Regions from separate parts of the Homo sapiens genome. Here region 1 is linked to region 2. The links are contacts of gene promoters, found by promoter capture Hi-C in blood cells and fetal thymus (Javierre and others, 2016). All regions are on one chromosome and are shown on one strand. Each heading gives the region's core, a stretch centred on a gene start or on the middle of the fragment in contact. The rest is flanking DNA. Distances are from core to core; before and after follow the strand shown.

The links. The method cuts DNA at HindIII sites, captures the fragments that hold promoters and counts their contacts. A CHiCAGO score of 5 or more calls a contact.
Region 1: a fragment that was not itself captured here is called in contact with the fragment with the promoter of NFU1 in region 2 in 1 of 17 cell types (total B cells); the score reaches 6.7 in total B cells.

The regions. Positions count from the first base shown.
Region 1 is chr2:69,713,739-69,720,833 of GRCh38, forward strand. It overlaps a transcript of ANXA4 not described here. Among named protein-coding and RNA genes, the nearest start is that of ANXA4, 25 kb to the right of the region's middle. The HindIII fragment of the contact is 701 bases long and covers 4,501-5,201 here.
Region 2 is chr2:69,433,289-69,440,716 of GRCh38, forward strand. NFU1 (NFU1 iron-sulfur cluster scaffold) reads right to left here and starts at 4,147. Exons shown (of 8, transcript NM_001002755.4): 1 at 4,073-4,147. The coding sequence starts at 4,134. RefSeq lists an enhancer at 4,003-4,152. The HindIII fragment of the contact is 2,434 bases long and covers 3,808-6,241 here.

The DNA.
Region 1 (7,095 bases), core at 3,601-6,100, 280 kb after region 2:
TGCCCTGAAGGCATCACCGCTCTCCCGTCTCCTCTTGGGGCACCTAACTCTCTTAACAGTTTAGGACTTTGAGGAGTTTTGCCTTTCACAAAAAGAAAGAATGGGGGAAAAACGGTTATGCCTCAGCAGCTTTCGCTGTCTACCCTGCAGCACAAATTCCACTTGATGGAGGAACACAAAGGTCGGACTCCCTGCCGTGAAGAGGAGAAAGGGAAATTCGAATATGGAAGGAGCTCTACTCTCCCTTGCTCTGTCCTCCGCAAGAGAATGGGGCAGAACATTCTTTAGTCTACACCTCTGTCCCACATGAGTTGCCAAAGACCACAGTGCCTGGTGGGTGACATCTCTCCAGGCTTTTGAAGACATCTGAGCCTGGATTTTGAGCACATTCCTGACCTCCCTACTGGGAGGCTCTTCTCCTTCAAGGTCTGCCTTCTGACAAGCCCTAGCTCTTTCCCACCTCCAGTGGCTGGGTGGGCCGGGGGGTGGGGTAAGGGTGGAGATGTGGGCACATTCTGGGAGCCCCACCAGAACCCCATGGAGTGGAGAAGTGACCTTCTAAGGAGGGGAGCGTACAGTTTCCGGAAGGGAGGAAGGATGCGGTGAGGACCAAATGCATCCATGCAGGATTTCAAATATAAACGACTCTATAGAATACAAGCACCTACTCCTGGCAACCGAAGCCGAAGGAAGCCTAAGAATATAAGAGACGGGGCTTCGGCGAGGGCACGTGACCGAAAACTCACATAACACTCCACCTGCCCCAGTCCAGCCAGCCTGCTGTCCACAGTGTGCCCATCAGTGTATCAAACCTCAGTGCTTTATTTCCTGGGATCCTGGCCGAGCTCCCATTAACCTCCTGTGTTGTCCCCACAGCTCCTATACATGGGAGAGGGCCTGCGTTGGGCCAGATCCCAGAGCTGGGGCCTAATTTGTGATGGGATGCCCTGGGAGGCAAGCGTGCTTCAGCATGTACCCAATCAATAGCCAGACACCCAGGTCCGGAGGTGCCTGAGTCGGTCAGCAGGACGTTGGGCAGGTCTAGGTTCAGAACCTCTGCAGTTTTTCCCTTGGCTTCCCCGGGGCTTGTCCACAACGCCCCCTGCTGCCCATTCTTGGTTAACCTTGTGTCTTGTGGATACCTCATCAGATCTGTTCATGAAGCCTAACGCAAGGTCCTCCCTCCAGGGTGACACAGTGAAGTCAAGTAACAGATGTGGAGATGCTTTGGAGAGCTTGAAACAGAAGACTACATAATAACAATGGGCCAGTATCATAAAGCCAAGATTGAAGAAGACAGAACTGAATATCTCCCTCATCTGCAAAACTTGCCTTATCTTTCAGTATCATCCTGTTTCAGTGGACAGAAATCAATCCATCATATATTTGAGCCCTGCTCTTATAACCAAGTTAAATTTTGCCTAAAATAAGGCCCTGCCTCAAGCAAATCATGGTTTGTTTTTTATTTTATTTTATTTATTTATTTTTTGAAATGGAGTCTCGCTCTGTCACCCAGGCTGGAGTGCAGTGGTGCAATCTCCTCTCACCACAACCTCCCCCTCCTGGGTTCAAGCGATTCTCACCTCAGCCTCCCAAGTAGCTGGGATTACAGGTACGCACCACCATGCCTGGCTACTTTTTGTATTTTTAGTAGAGACGGGGTTTCACCATATTGGCCAGGCTGGTCTTGAACTCCTGGTCTCAAGTGATCCTCCCACCTCGGCCTCCCAAAGTGCTGGGATTACAGGCATAAGCCATCACGCCTGGCCAAATCATGGTTTAGAAAAGGGAGATGGTCAAATATAATTGTTATGACTGCCATAGTACCTACTATGTCCCAGATAATTTGCCTAGGTTTTTAACCCTCACAACACATCCCTAAAACATTGTACAGATGCAAATGCAGAGGCACGAAGAGGCTTAAAACATTCCCAAAGTCACATAGTTACTATAAAGCCAGTAACTGGCTCTATGTCTATCTGAGTCCAAAATGTGTTTTGTCCCCTTCTGTGCCTATGCACAGAGGGCAGTGGGAACATAAATGGAGGTGGAGGGAGGGGTAAGAAGGAGACATCAGTGGTCTACCCTCTTTATGTGATAACAGACTCCCTCTTTTATCTGGCAGCTGCTCCCTCAAGAGGAATACCCATTCTTTCTTCCTAGGTCAAGAAAGAGAGTCCAAGGCATGGTCAATCACAACACTGTCCCTCTAGTCATGGGCCAAGTGCTGGGCACACGTCACCAGCCAGGCTACTCTTAGCCTTTCCCATAATTTTAATAACCTGAGACTGGGAGAAAGAAGCCTCACTCTCTCCTGGAGTGATCAAACTGTATGTAAGTCTAGAGTTCTCTGTGAGTACAGTCTCCTCTAGCAAGAAAGGATGAGACCAACTCATAATAAGAAGCCAAAATACATGTACATATGAGTAAGAGAGAGAGAGAGAGCTGACAGCATTGTTTGGGTGTCTGGATCTAGCCATTCCTGTGGTGGCTCTGTCTAGTCCTTACTTAAATGAGTTAATACATCCCCTTTTAACTGAAGCTAGTTTGTGTTGGGTTTCTGTCCCTTAAAGTCAAGAGTCCTGAGAAATACAATACTGGTCAAAAAAAGTCTTCATAGAACAGGTGAACCAGGAAAAAAGGGATTCACCAGAAAGATAAGAGGAGAGGCAGAGGGTGAACGTAACAGCAGCTGCACTCGAGGAACTGCGAGCAGCTCAGGATGACTTGAGCTGAGATGTGCAGAGGGGGTTGGAGAGACGGGCGAGAGCCACATCAGGGAAGGCCTTGTTTGTCAGGTTAAAATGTTTGGTCTTTATGTGAGGGCGACAGGGAGCCCCCAAAGGGTTTCAAGCAGTGGTGTGACATGCTCAAGCTCGTTTTGAGAAGATCACTCGGGAGAACGGGTCTGAGAGACAGCACAACAGGAGGGCAGCGGATTAGTTATGAGGCTGCTCCGGGAATCCAGGTGAAGAGCTCAGGATGGAAAATGACTCGACGTTTTTGACTTGGTCATTGGCCAGAGGGGAGGGCAAGAACGAAAAGAGTTGTGTTTTGTTCATGTGCAGTTTGAAGTAAGTATCATACATTTAAATGGAATTGTCCAGTAGGTTTACTAAAAGAGATGACAGAGTTGGCGATGTTTAAGTTTTTCTGAGTCATCAATTCAGCTGTTTGCTGTCTGCCTACTACTGGCCAAGCACTGTGTGGAGGAGAACACCGTCCAGCCTCTGCTCCCTGGCATCACACTGTGGCAAGACAAAACAGATGATAACCAGAGAAACCAATCAAGAAACAAGGGAAGTGCAGGGGAGACCGTAAAGCAGCATCGTGTAGCAGAGGGGCTGGGGTGGGGGCTCCATCTCTTCAGTGGTCCTGGAAGGAGGAGCTGACGCCCTGAGGGTGCAGGAGGTGGCTGAAGATGAATATTCTCCAATTCATGCCCACTGAATAGGAACATGCCCATTTAAAAGCATCCATATGCATTTTGTTTGGCTTGTTGGTTTTCTTTGCCTGCCTATGCCTTCAAAGCTGGCATTGAGGTGGCAGGAGGCTTCTGTGCAGAAAACTGAGGCTGGTGCTGGAAAACTCCCACCATGGCCCCTTTGTTCTCATCCAGTGCCTTTCATCCCACACTCCCAAAGCCCATCCTGGCGCCCACCCTTTAATTGTCAGGCCTGGCTCATCGACACAAGCAGGTGGCATTTGATCATTATTCCTGCATCATAAATGAGGGTAACAAAGGCCTCCCTCTCCAGGGTATCAGCCAATATTATTTTGTGAGTTCAAGGGATCTGACTTTGAGTTGAAGCAGAAAGGCCTGATGTCCCATCCTTTTCATTTCTGGAATTACCCGTCGCTGCATCTTTCTGTTACCGCCATTTCCTCTTTAACTCCACGTATCTAACTGGAAACTTTGCTTTTCTTTGTTTCATCTTCTTTGGAATATGTTGTTCCCTGTGACCCCTCCCCACAAAGCCTTGCCTCTGCAGCAGATGCCCTGAGCCTTCCTGATGCCTGGGACTGGTACCTCATCCAGTTTGCTTGTTTCAGGCACTAACTAAACTAGAATGTGCCTGGATCCCTATGGGCCTTGGCTTTCTACCAGATGACAGGCAAACTAAGAGACGTACACAACCTATGCACTCCCTTCCCTCTAGAATGTTTCAGCAGGGGTCCTCTAAGTAAGAAAGCTGGAATTAAAAGGAATAGTTTTAATGGGGAAACCCTGGCTAGGGAGATGCTTGATACCCTAAGGCTGTATGTCTAGCTAGGTCAGGCATAGCTCAGTGCGGTCTGCATTTCATAGCAGATGTTTAGTTTGGAAAGTCCCCTGGCTACTTGGCTTCTAGAGCCCTCTCTCACCATGGGACTTCTCTGTGGGAGGACAGAACTCATCAATCACATTCTCCAAATGTCAAGTTCCTGCTGTGTAACCCCAGGAGAACCTTGCTTCCCATCTACATAACAGAAGTGAGGACCCCAGATTTGCTAGACAAAAGCTTGAACCTGTGGGGAAAGGTCCCCCCAGCTGGTCAGAATTCCCAAAGAAGGCTACCACTGGGAGATGGATTGCAATATAAATGGCACCCCCACCCTCTGGATGTTTGTCATTTCACCCTTCCTTCTTTACCTGACAATCTCTTAAGAGATTCTTGGGGGGATGTAATACACCAGCCAGGAACTAAATTATATTCAACTTTCTCAAGTAGATACTATTTCAGCTACGTTTGGGAAATGCTTAGCCAGAATTTGAGGTCACTGGAAGAGGTCATAGAATCACTCAGGTTCAGACTTGTGGAATTACTTACACTTTCCAGAACCTGTCATGACTTCTTTGGCTCCAGGGCTTTATACCTGCTGCTTCTTGTGCTTTGGGGTTTCCTTCTCTCCCACCAGCCCTATCCACAGCACACACATGCATACACAAACATGTACACACGTATACACATGCATGCATGCACATGCGCACACATGCACACACATGCATACACAAATGCACACACATACATGCATACACACACATACACACACATTCACACACATGCATACACATACGTGCATACACACACATGCTGCACACATGCACACACATATACATGCACACACATACATGCATACACATGTGTGCATACGCACATGCATACACACACATGCATACACAGCATGGCCTCTGCTTGTCCTTCCAGAGTCTCTTATAAAGCTTTTCCTGATATTCCAAGTCTCAAGCTAGCTACCCTCCTTTTTTTTTTTTTTGTGACTGAGTCTCACACTGTCACCCAGGCTGGAGTGCAGTGGCACAATCTCGGCTCACTGCAACCTCCACCTCCTAGGTTCAAGTGATTCTCCTGCCTCATTCTCCCAAGTAGCTGGAATTACAGGCACCTGCCACCACGCCCAGCTAATTTTTTGTATTTTTAGTAGAGACAAGGTTTCACTATGTTGGCCAAGCTGGTCTTGAACTCCTGACCTTGCCACACCCCCATTTTTACAGTTTTCTAACCATTGACTATTTTCCAGTCTTTTTTTTTTTTTTTTTTTTTTTTTTGAGGCAGGGTCTCGCTCTGCACCCAGGCTGGAGTATGATAGTGCAACCATAGCACATTGCAGCCTCCTGGGCTCAAGAAAGCCTCCTGCTTTCAGCCTCCTGAGTAGCTGGGACTACAGGTATGTGCCACAACATCCAAGTAATTTTTAAAAATTATTATTATTTTTTTTTGAGACGGAGTCTTGCTCTGTTGCCCAGGCTAGAGTGCAGTGGTGCAATCTCGGCTCATTGCAAACTCTGCCTCCCGGGTTTGAGTGATTCTTGTGCCTCAGCCTCCTGAGTAGCTGGGATTACAGGCGCCCACCAACACACCTGGCTAATTTTTATATTTTTAGTAGAGACAGGTTTCACCATGTTGGCTGGGCTGGTCTCGAACTCCTGACCTCAAGTGATCCACCTGCCTCAGCCTCCCAAAGTGCTGGGATTACAGGCATGAGAAACCATGCCCTGCCTAAAATTATTTTTTGAATTATTAATTATACAAAAATCATTAGTTAAAAATCATTAAATTTTGTATTTTTAGTAGAGATGGGGTCTCACTATGTTGCCCAGGCTGGTCTCAAACTCCTGCTTAAGTGATCGTCCCACCTTGGCCTCCCAAAGTGCTAGGATTACAGACATCAGTCACTGTGCCTGGCGAAGTCTTTACCAATTGGCAATAAGCTCTCTGGTTGTCATTACAGTTCCAACGTGCCAGGCAACCAGTAAATGATCAATAAATATTGGCATTTTGGGTGAATACATAGGTCATTAGTGCTACTGTTCTGCTTTGACTCTCATTCAGATTAGGAACGAGCTCCCCCTCCAAATAAGCAAGCAGACTAGAGACTATTTCCTGAGAATGTAATTCCGATTCAATTCAGAATTTGTTTCATATGCTCAGGACTTGGCCCTCGGAGGGCTGGGGAGAGGGAAACAAGCAATACTAATTGTAATCTCTGCCTTCAATTTTCCCCTTTTTGAACATAGTACTAGTGTTGGCCACCTCTCTGCACTGCTTCAAATCCCCCCGGTCCCTCCTCTCGCTCCATCAGTGCCTTGGTGACCACTTTCACGCAGGCTTTGCCAACTGCACATGTTCAAAGGCTCATAGGTGAAAGAGCACAGTGCATCCATGGAACTTCAAGAAATTCAGGGGAGCTGAAGCAAAGTTCATTCACGGTGGGGAGGAGCAGAGGCAGTGAGGGGAAGAAGTGAGGATGGAGGGCTCTGCATGGGATGCAGCATGAAGGACCTTCCAAGAGTGCAAAGTTATGTATCCTGATGGCAAGGGGCAGCCATGGAAGATTTTGAGTAGGGAAGTGACTTGATCAGATTTATGTTTTTAAAAGATTCCTCTTGCTGCAATATGGGAAATTGACCAGAGGGGGCACAGCTGGAGGCAGAAGTCCAGTTGGTAATTAGACATTCTCAATCTGCCTATATGTGAACATCATTAAAGAAATACCCAGAGGAGGGGTCCAAATGTCACTTTTTTTTTCTTCCAGGTCCCCTCAGTGATTCCTGTGTGCACCCAGGGTTGAGAACTACTGCATAAGAGGTCCTAG
Region 2 (7,428 bases), core at 2,897-5,396:
CTGCCTCAGCCTCCCGAGTAGCTGAGATTACAGGTGCCCGCCACCATGCCTGGCTAATTTTTGTACTTTTTAGTAGAGACAGGGTTTCACCATGTTGGCCAGGATGGTCTCGAACTCTTGACCTCAGGTGATCCTCCCGTATCGGCCTCCCAAAGTGCTGAGATTACAGGCATGAGACACCACACCTGGCCCGTCTTTTTTTTTTGAGACTGAGTCTCACTTTGTCGCCCACGCTGGAGTGCAGTGATGCGATCCCAGCTTACTGCAACCTCCACCTCCTGGGTTCAAGTGATTCTCTTGCCTCAGCCTCCCTAGTAGCTGGGATTACAGGTGTACACCATCACACCCGGCTAATTTTTATATTTTTAGTAGAGACAGGGTTTCACCACGTTGGCCAGGCTGATCTCCAACTCCTGACCTAAAGTGATCCACCTGCCTTGGCCTCCCAAAATGCTGGGATTACACAGCCAACGATCTTGATCACGCTTTTCGTGTTTTGTTTTGAGACAGGGTCTTGTTCTGTCACCCATGCTGGAGTACAATGGTGTGATCAGGGCTCACTGCAGCCTCAACATCCTAGGCTCAAGTGATTCTCCCACCTCAGCCTCCCAAGTAGGTGACACTACAGCTGTATGCCACCATGCCCAGCTAGTTTTTTTTTTTTTTTTTACTTCTGGTAGAGATGGATTACCACTATGTTGCTCAGGCTGATCTCCAGCTCCTGGCTCAAGTAATCCTCCCACTTTGGCCTCCCAAAGTGCTGGGATTATAGGCGTGAGCCACCATGCCCTGCCTTTTATATGCTTTTTGGATGGAAACATATTAACCCAGTGTTGTAACTTCACTTCACTTTTTTTTTTCTTTTTTTTTTTGTGAGACGGAGTCTTGCTCTGTCGCCCAGGATGGAGTGCAGTGGTGCGATCTTGGCTCACTGCAACCTCCGCCTCCTGGGTTCAAGCAATTCTCCGCCTCAGCCTCCCAAGTAGCTGGGATTATAGATGCCCACCACCATGCCCGGCTAATTTTTGTATTTTTAGTAGAGACAGGGTTTCACCATCTTGGCCAGGCTGGTCTTGAACTCCTGACCTCATGATCCACTAGCCTCGGCCTCCCAAAGTGCTGGGATTACAGGCGTGAGCCACAGCGCCAGGCCTCTAACTTTACTTCACTCTTACAGAGAAAACTTAATTGGCTATTTTTTATGGCTTTGACAAACTGAAAACAAAGGAAGAAAATGAAAGCAAATATTACTGGAAAAGGAAGTAAAAGGAGACTTTAATAGTAAAAATTCTTAAAATCCCAATGCAATTTACTTTAAAATCCGGTTTACTTGAAAATATCATCGCTATCCATTACCACTGCCACTTCATAGGAGCCATAGAAAAATTTTAAGTACAGGAGTCATTTATAATTGCCAATGGGTTCACTTTGCCCACTGTCCAGATACTGCTAATTCATCAAGACAGGGGATTTGCAATAAAGAGTTTAATTCACATGGAGCCAGCTGAAAGGGAGAGTGGAGTTTTAGTACTCAGTCTCTCTGGATCTGAGGCTAGGGGTTTTCAAGGATAGACTGGCAGGCCAGGGAACGGGTGTTGCTGACTGGTTGGGGATGCAATCATAGGGGTGCGGAAAATGATCCTCCTGAGTGCTCAGCCCGTTTGTGGGCGGGGCCACAGGACCAGTCAGAAATGCAAAAACCTGAAAAGGCTAATCTTAGGTTCTACAAGAGAGATGTTTTCTGCAGGAGTAATTGGGGAAGTTGCAACTCTTAGGACCGCCAGAATAATGGCTGGTAATCATTTACATCTACACCTTAGCAGAATTCAGGCTCCTCTCATCCTCCAAACCTGGTGGTCTTTCATTAGCTTTATAAAGGTGGTTTAATTTTGGGAAAGGGCTATTATCATTTAAACTATAAACTAAATGTCTCCCAAAGTTAGCTTGGCCCAAGCCCGGGAATGGGCAGTCTAGAGGTTAAAGGCAAAATGATGGTCAGTTAGAACGGTCTTTCACTGTCATAATTTTCTGTTAAAATTTTTTCCAAAGGCCAAAATTGTTTGTGATCATACACAAGATCACATTTATCTAATTATCTTCTGCTTAAAATAGGCAAGAAGCAACAGCGGCTGCCACATTTTTTTCTCTCTCTCACAAAACTGGAATTCTTCTCGTGGAAAAGAAAGAGTGGGCACCAATTAAGTATTAACAAAATACAGATGAACTGTTTACTACCTTCAATAATCTTTATATGCCATTGATAAGCAAAAGACTACTGGGATACTGTGGGACTGTAACCCATAGAGTTTCTTAGATGCTATTGGAGAGATAAAAGGATTGGCACCGAGGATTCAAGAGAACAATGGAATCAACACTGAATGGGAATCAAATAATCTGTGAAGTCCTGACTGCCACTCCCCACACTAGCTCCAGTGTTGATCACAGTAAGAGCTGTCACCACTTTATTTTGAGATGGAAATAATCTCGCTTTTCTCACTCTGTCACCCAGGCTGAAGTGCAGTGGCGTGATCTTGGCTCACTGCAACCTCCACCTCCCTGGTTCAAGCAATTCCCCTGCCTCAGCCTCCCAACTCGCTGGGATTACAGGCACACACCACCACGCCCAGCTTTTTTTTTTTTTTTTTTAGTTTCACCATGTTGGCCAGACTGGTCTCGAACTCCTGACCTCAGCCAATCCGCCCAGCTTGACCTCTCAAAGTGCTGGGATTACAGGCGTGAGCCACCACGCCCGGCACACCACTTTAAATTACATGAATCTATTACAGCACTCATGACTGTCATTATTTGTTAATATATTTTTCTTGCTAGACTGCATACTCATTAAGGGGAGAAACTATCTTCATTTCTAGCTGCTAGCACAATGGCCTCAGTTCTTCATCTCTACAATGAGATTAGTTTCACAGCTACCTCATAAATAATCCAGAGAATCCATGTAAAGTGCTTAAACCAGTGCCAGGCCATGCAGTAAGTGCTCAATAAATGGCAGCTGCTACCATTATTTAATTGGTGCCCAATAATTACTAATTGAGTGCAGTTCAAGGTTTGGGGTAAAAATGCCTTTTTCTATAGCTCAGTATCTAAATCTGTGAATACTCTGGAATTTGGAAATGCACTAGAAGAATAATATTCTCGTCCCTTCAGCCCAGGGAAAAGGCAGCAGAATGAATAAAGAGGAAGCACATTCCAACATACAGGTTTAAAGTCTTGTTTTTTTAAAGTAAGAGTGGATTACATTATTCAAGGAAGACATCTACTCAAACACAGGAGGTAACTAACAAAAAATTCTACCAACTTAAATCTTTTTAGGATATACATTTAAACTTCAAGAGCACCATTAACACTACAATGTCTAATACTCTAGAGGGCAAACTCTCCGTAGGCCATTTTCTCCAGACGTAAAATTAAGGTACACCTACATAAATGTCCTCTTAGCAATGTTCACAGAAGTCTTTGAAAGGTGAAACTCAAAGGTAGGGCTCAGGGAGGCGGAAAAAACAAGGGAACAGAGTGGGCTTAATGGTGGTGGGTGCAGGGAATCTAGGGGTCCTGGTTCTCGTCGGAATTCCATCACTTAGAAACTGTGTAACCTTGGACATGTCACCTCCTCTTTCAGGGCCTTACTGGGAAAATGAGGAAACGAGACAAGGTATTTTCTTCCCTTCTGTGTGACATTCTGATTCTGCGTTTAGAAGAGGAGGGAATGCACCCGGTAGAGGGCCTGGGGGCGGGAGAGGCACACGATTTTAAAACAGCTCCTCCGTTCTGGCTCTACAGCCAGTCTCTACAAGCTTCCGTACCGCAGAGACTCAAGAACTGGGTCTCTGAGCCTGAGAGGAAGCTCCAGAGAGTCCGCCCGGATTAGGCCACAGAAGCGCCGAGCTCCCGCACAGACAGCCTCAGGGCTCACCCCCAACTACGGCGACAGGGCGGACCCGCCGGCTCCATCAGATGCACTACCCACCCGCCTCGAGAGAGGGTCTGCAAGGCGGCGACCGCTCCGCTGGCTAAGCCCAGCGGCACACCTATTCGGAGCTCCAGGCTCGTCACCTACCGCCTGCGCAGCCCGGCGGCAACAGCCGCAGCTCCCCAGCCCCGCCTGGCCGTCGCCGCCATCTTAGTCCGGAGTGCCTAAGGGTCTCCCTGACAGAACCACGAAAGATCTGCGCAGCCGCAGGCTGGCCGGTAGCTGGGCGGGCACTGGGAAGAGCCCACCCTACCGGCTGCGGGCGGTCCTGCTGCGGATAAGTGCGGTGGCCTACGCGCCGAGGTTTGCAGGCTACTGCGTCACCCTGACCAAGAGAGGCCGGGGAACCTTTCCCGTTTGCGCCAACGCTTGGTTAATTCACGCAGCACTGTGAACGCATGCGTGTTTCCGTACTTTGTTTTCCCTGTTGGCTAGGTTTTTAGCTGGTGCTGGTGCTGCCTTGCGAATGCTGTTTCCAGCCCCTAAACCTGACCCATTCCCTCCTCTAGGACCCTACTCAGCCTCCAGGCCCAGCTCAGTGACTGCCCCCAAAGACTCCCTGGAGCATTCCTTCTAAAAGGTTCTCGCATTTCTCCTGCCCTTTTCCCATGGGTCTGATGTGGAACTGTGTCTAACCCTTCCTCATAGCTGTGCTTGTCAGCTGCCACTTGGTCATCTTGGACCAACCCGCACAGAGGATGTATCTGGTACAGTGCTGCCCTTCTCCGATTAACATGAGACTTGACTAGTTTCCAGGGCAGAGTGCCAAAGCCCATTACCTATTCTTCCAGAACCTTCCTGGAGTATTCCGTTTTCTCTAGGACAACGGTTCTCAAAGTGCGGACTAGGGGCCAAAAAAAAGCAGGAGAACACGTTAGAAATGCACGTTAGAACATGTTAGAAATCCTGGGCCCCACTTTATACTTACTGAGGCACAATCTCTGTAGGTGGGGACTAGAAATCTTTGTTACTTGCTTTTTTTTTTTTTCTTTTTCCAGAGACAGGGTCTATCTCTGTTGCCCAGGCTGGAGAGCAGGAGTGCGATCATAGCTCACCAAAACCAACTCCTGGGCTCAAGTGATTCATCCTCCAGCCTCAGCCTCCCAAAGCACTGGGATTACAGGTGTGAGCCACGGTGCCTGGCTTTTATTAGCAGTAGTAGTAGTAGTATTTTTGTAGAGAAGAGGTCTCCCTGTGTTGCCTGGGCTGCTCTTGAACTCTGCTGGCCTCAAGTGATCCCTCTCACCTGGGCCTCCAAAAGCTCTTAGGTTACCTCACCCTGCCTAGTAGTGTTTTAACAAACCCTTCCCAGGATTCTGATGCCAGCTAAAATTTGAGAATCACTGTTCTGGAAGACAGAGGACTGGTTTCCAGAATGGAAACAGCACACCTGTTGTTGAACAGGTTGAGGCCACACCCAAGACAACCCTAGTAATTTCTATGGCCCACAGACACATCTAAGAGGGTGGGTGGGTTTCAGGCCTGCAGCTCGCCCGGGCCCGCACACTGAGTGGGCTGTGCCTCCTACGAGTTTGGTTCATTCCCAATGCTGCGTACTTGCTTTTAACTACTAGTGATCTTCCCCCATCCAACCCCCCACCCAGTGATCTTCCCCCATCCAACCCCCCACCCACCCCCCCACACACACCCATTCTAGACCGCAAGGCAGTCCAAGGCTCTGTTTTTGACCCTCAATCAAAAATAAAATGTGGCTCTTCCACCTTGGAACAATCGTTCTTCTCAGACTTCAATTTTTCCCTCTCTGATGGATTCCTTATCATAAGAAAAATCCTGCCTTGCCCCAAATCCTCTTCCACACTCTTTTCTTCCCTTCAGAACCAAGTGGCTTAAAAAAATGGTCTGCACTCTTAGTCTCTAGTTTTTCACTTCCCACTCCTCAAACCCCTGAAACGAGGCTTCTATGTCCCACCATTCTTAGGGCCTGCTCTAGTCAAACCACCCACAGCCTCTGTGCTACTGTGTCCGGAATTGGTGGGTTCTTGGTCTCGCTAACTTCAAGAATGAAGCCATGGACCCTTGTGGTGAGTGTTACAGTTCTTAAAGATGGTGTGTCCAGAGTCTGTTCCTTCAGATGGTCAGATGTGTCCGGAGTTTGTTTCTTCTGGTGGGTTCGTGGTCTCACTGACTTCAGGAGTGAAGCTGCAGACCTTTGCGATGGGTGTTACAGTTCATAAAGACAGCACGGGCCCAAAGAGTGAGCCACATCAAGATTTACTACAAAGAGCAAAAGAACAAAGCTTTCATAACATGGAAGGGGACCCAAGCAGGTTGCCACTGCTGCCTCAGGCACCCTGCTTTTATTCCCTTATCTGACCCCACCCACATCCTGCTGATTGGCCCATTTTACAGAGAGCTGATTGGTCCATTTTACAGAGTACTGATTGGTTTGTTTTACAGAGAGCTGATTGGTCCGTTTTGACAGGGTGCTGATTGGTGCGTTTACAATCCCTGAGCTAGACATAGAGTGCTGATTGGTGTATTTACAATCCTCTAGCTAGAGTAAAAGTTCTCCAAGTCCCCACTAGGTTAGCTAGACACAGAGCACTGATTGGTGCATTTACAAACCTTGAGCTAGACACAGGGTGCTGATTGGTGTATTTACAATCCTTTAGCCAGACATAAAAGTTCTCCAAGTTCCCACCAGATTAGCTAGATACAGAGTGCTGATTGGTGCATCCATAAACCCCAAGCTAGACACAGAGTGCTGATTGATACATATACAATCCTCTGGCTAGACATAAAAGTTCTCCAAGTCCCCACCTGACTCAGGAGCCCAGCTGGCTTCGCCTAGTGGATCCCATGCCAGGGCCATGAGCAGAGCTGCCTGCCAGTCCTGCACCACAAGCCTGCACTAGAAAAAGTATCAGGCCCAGAGAGGCATTTAAAATGTAGCAGCAGTAATATCTCATTCGCCCTTGAGCTAAGTAACAACTTCTTGAAGTCACTTGCTATGTATACACTAGACTAATGTCAAGAAGCCGTTAACATGCCATATACCCTATAGTTCAACAGTGCATGGCCAGTCACTAACAATGTTATTTCTGTAAACCAATGAGAATACCTGCTGAGCATGGTGGCTCACACCTGTAATCCCAACACTCTGGGAGGCCAAGGTGGGCAAATTGCTTGAGCCCAGGAGTTTGAGACCATGCTGGGAAACATGGAGGGTTTACAAGCATGAGCCACTAACCCTGGCAGAATAAAAACATGTTATCTGAGGAAGGTGAGCCCCTTTAAATTATGAGGCCCATTGACTAGCCTAAAAAAGAAAAGTATCAGGGCCGGGTGCTGTGGCTCACGCCTCTAATCCCAGCACTTGGGAGTCTCTACAAACAAACCATGTCTCCACAAAAAATTAGCCAGATGTCATGGCATATGCCTGTAGTGCCAGCTATTTGGGAGGCTGAGATGAGAGAATCACC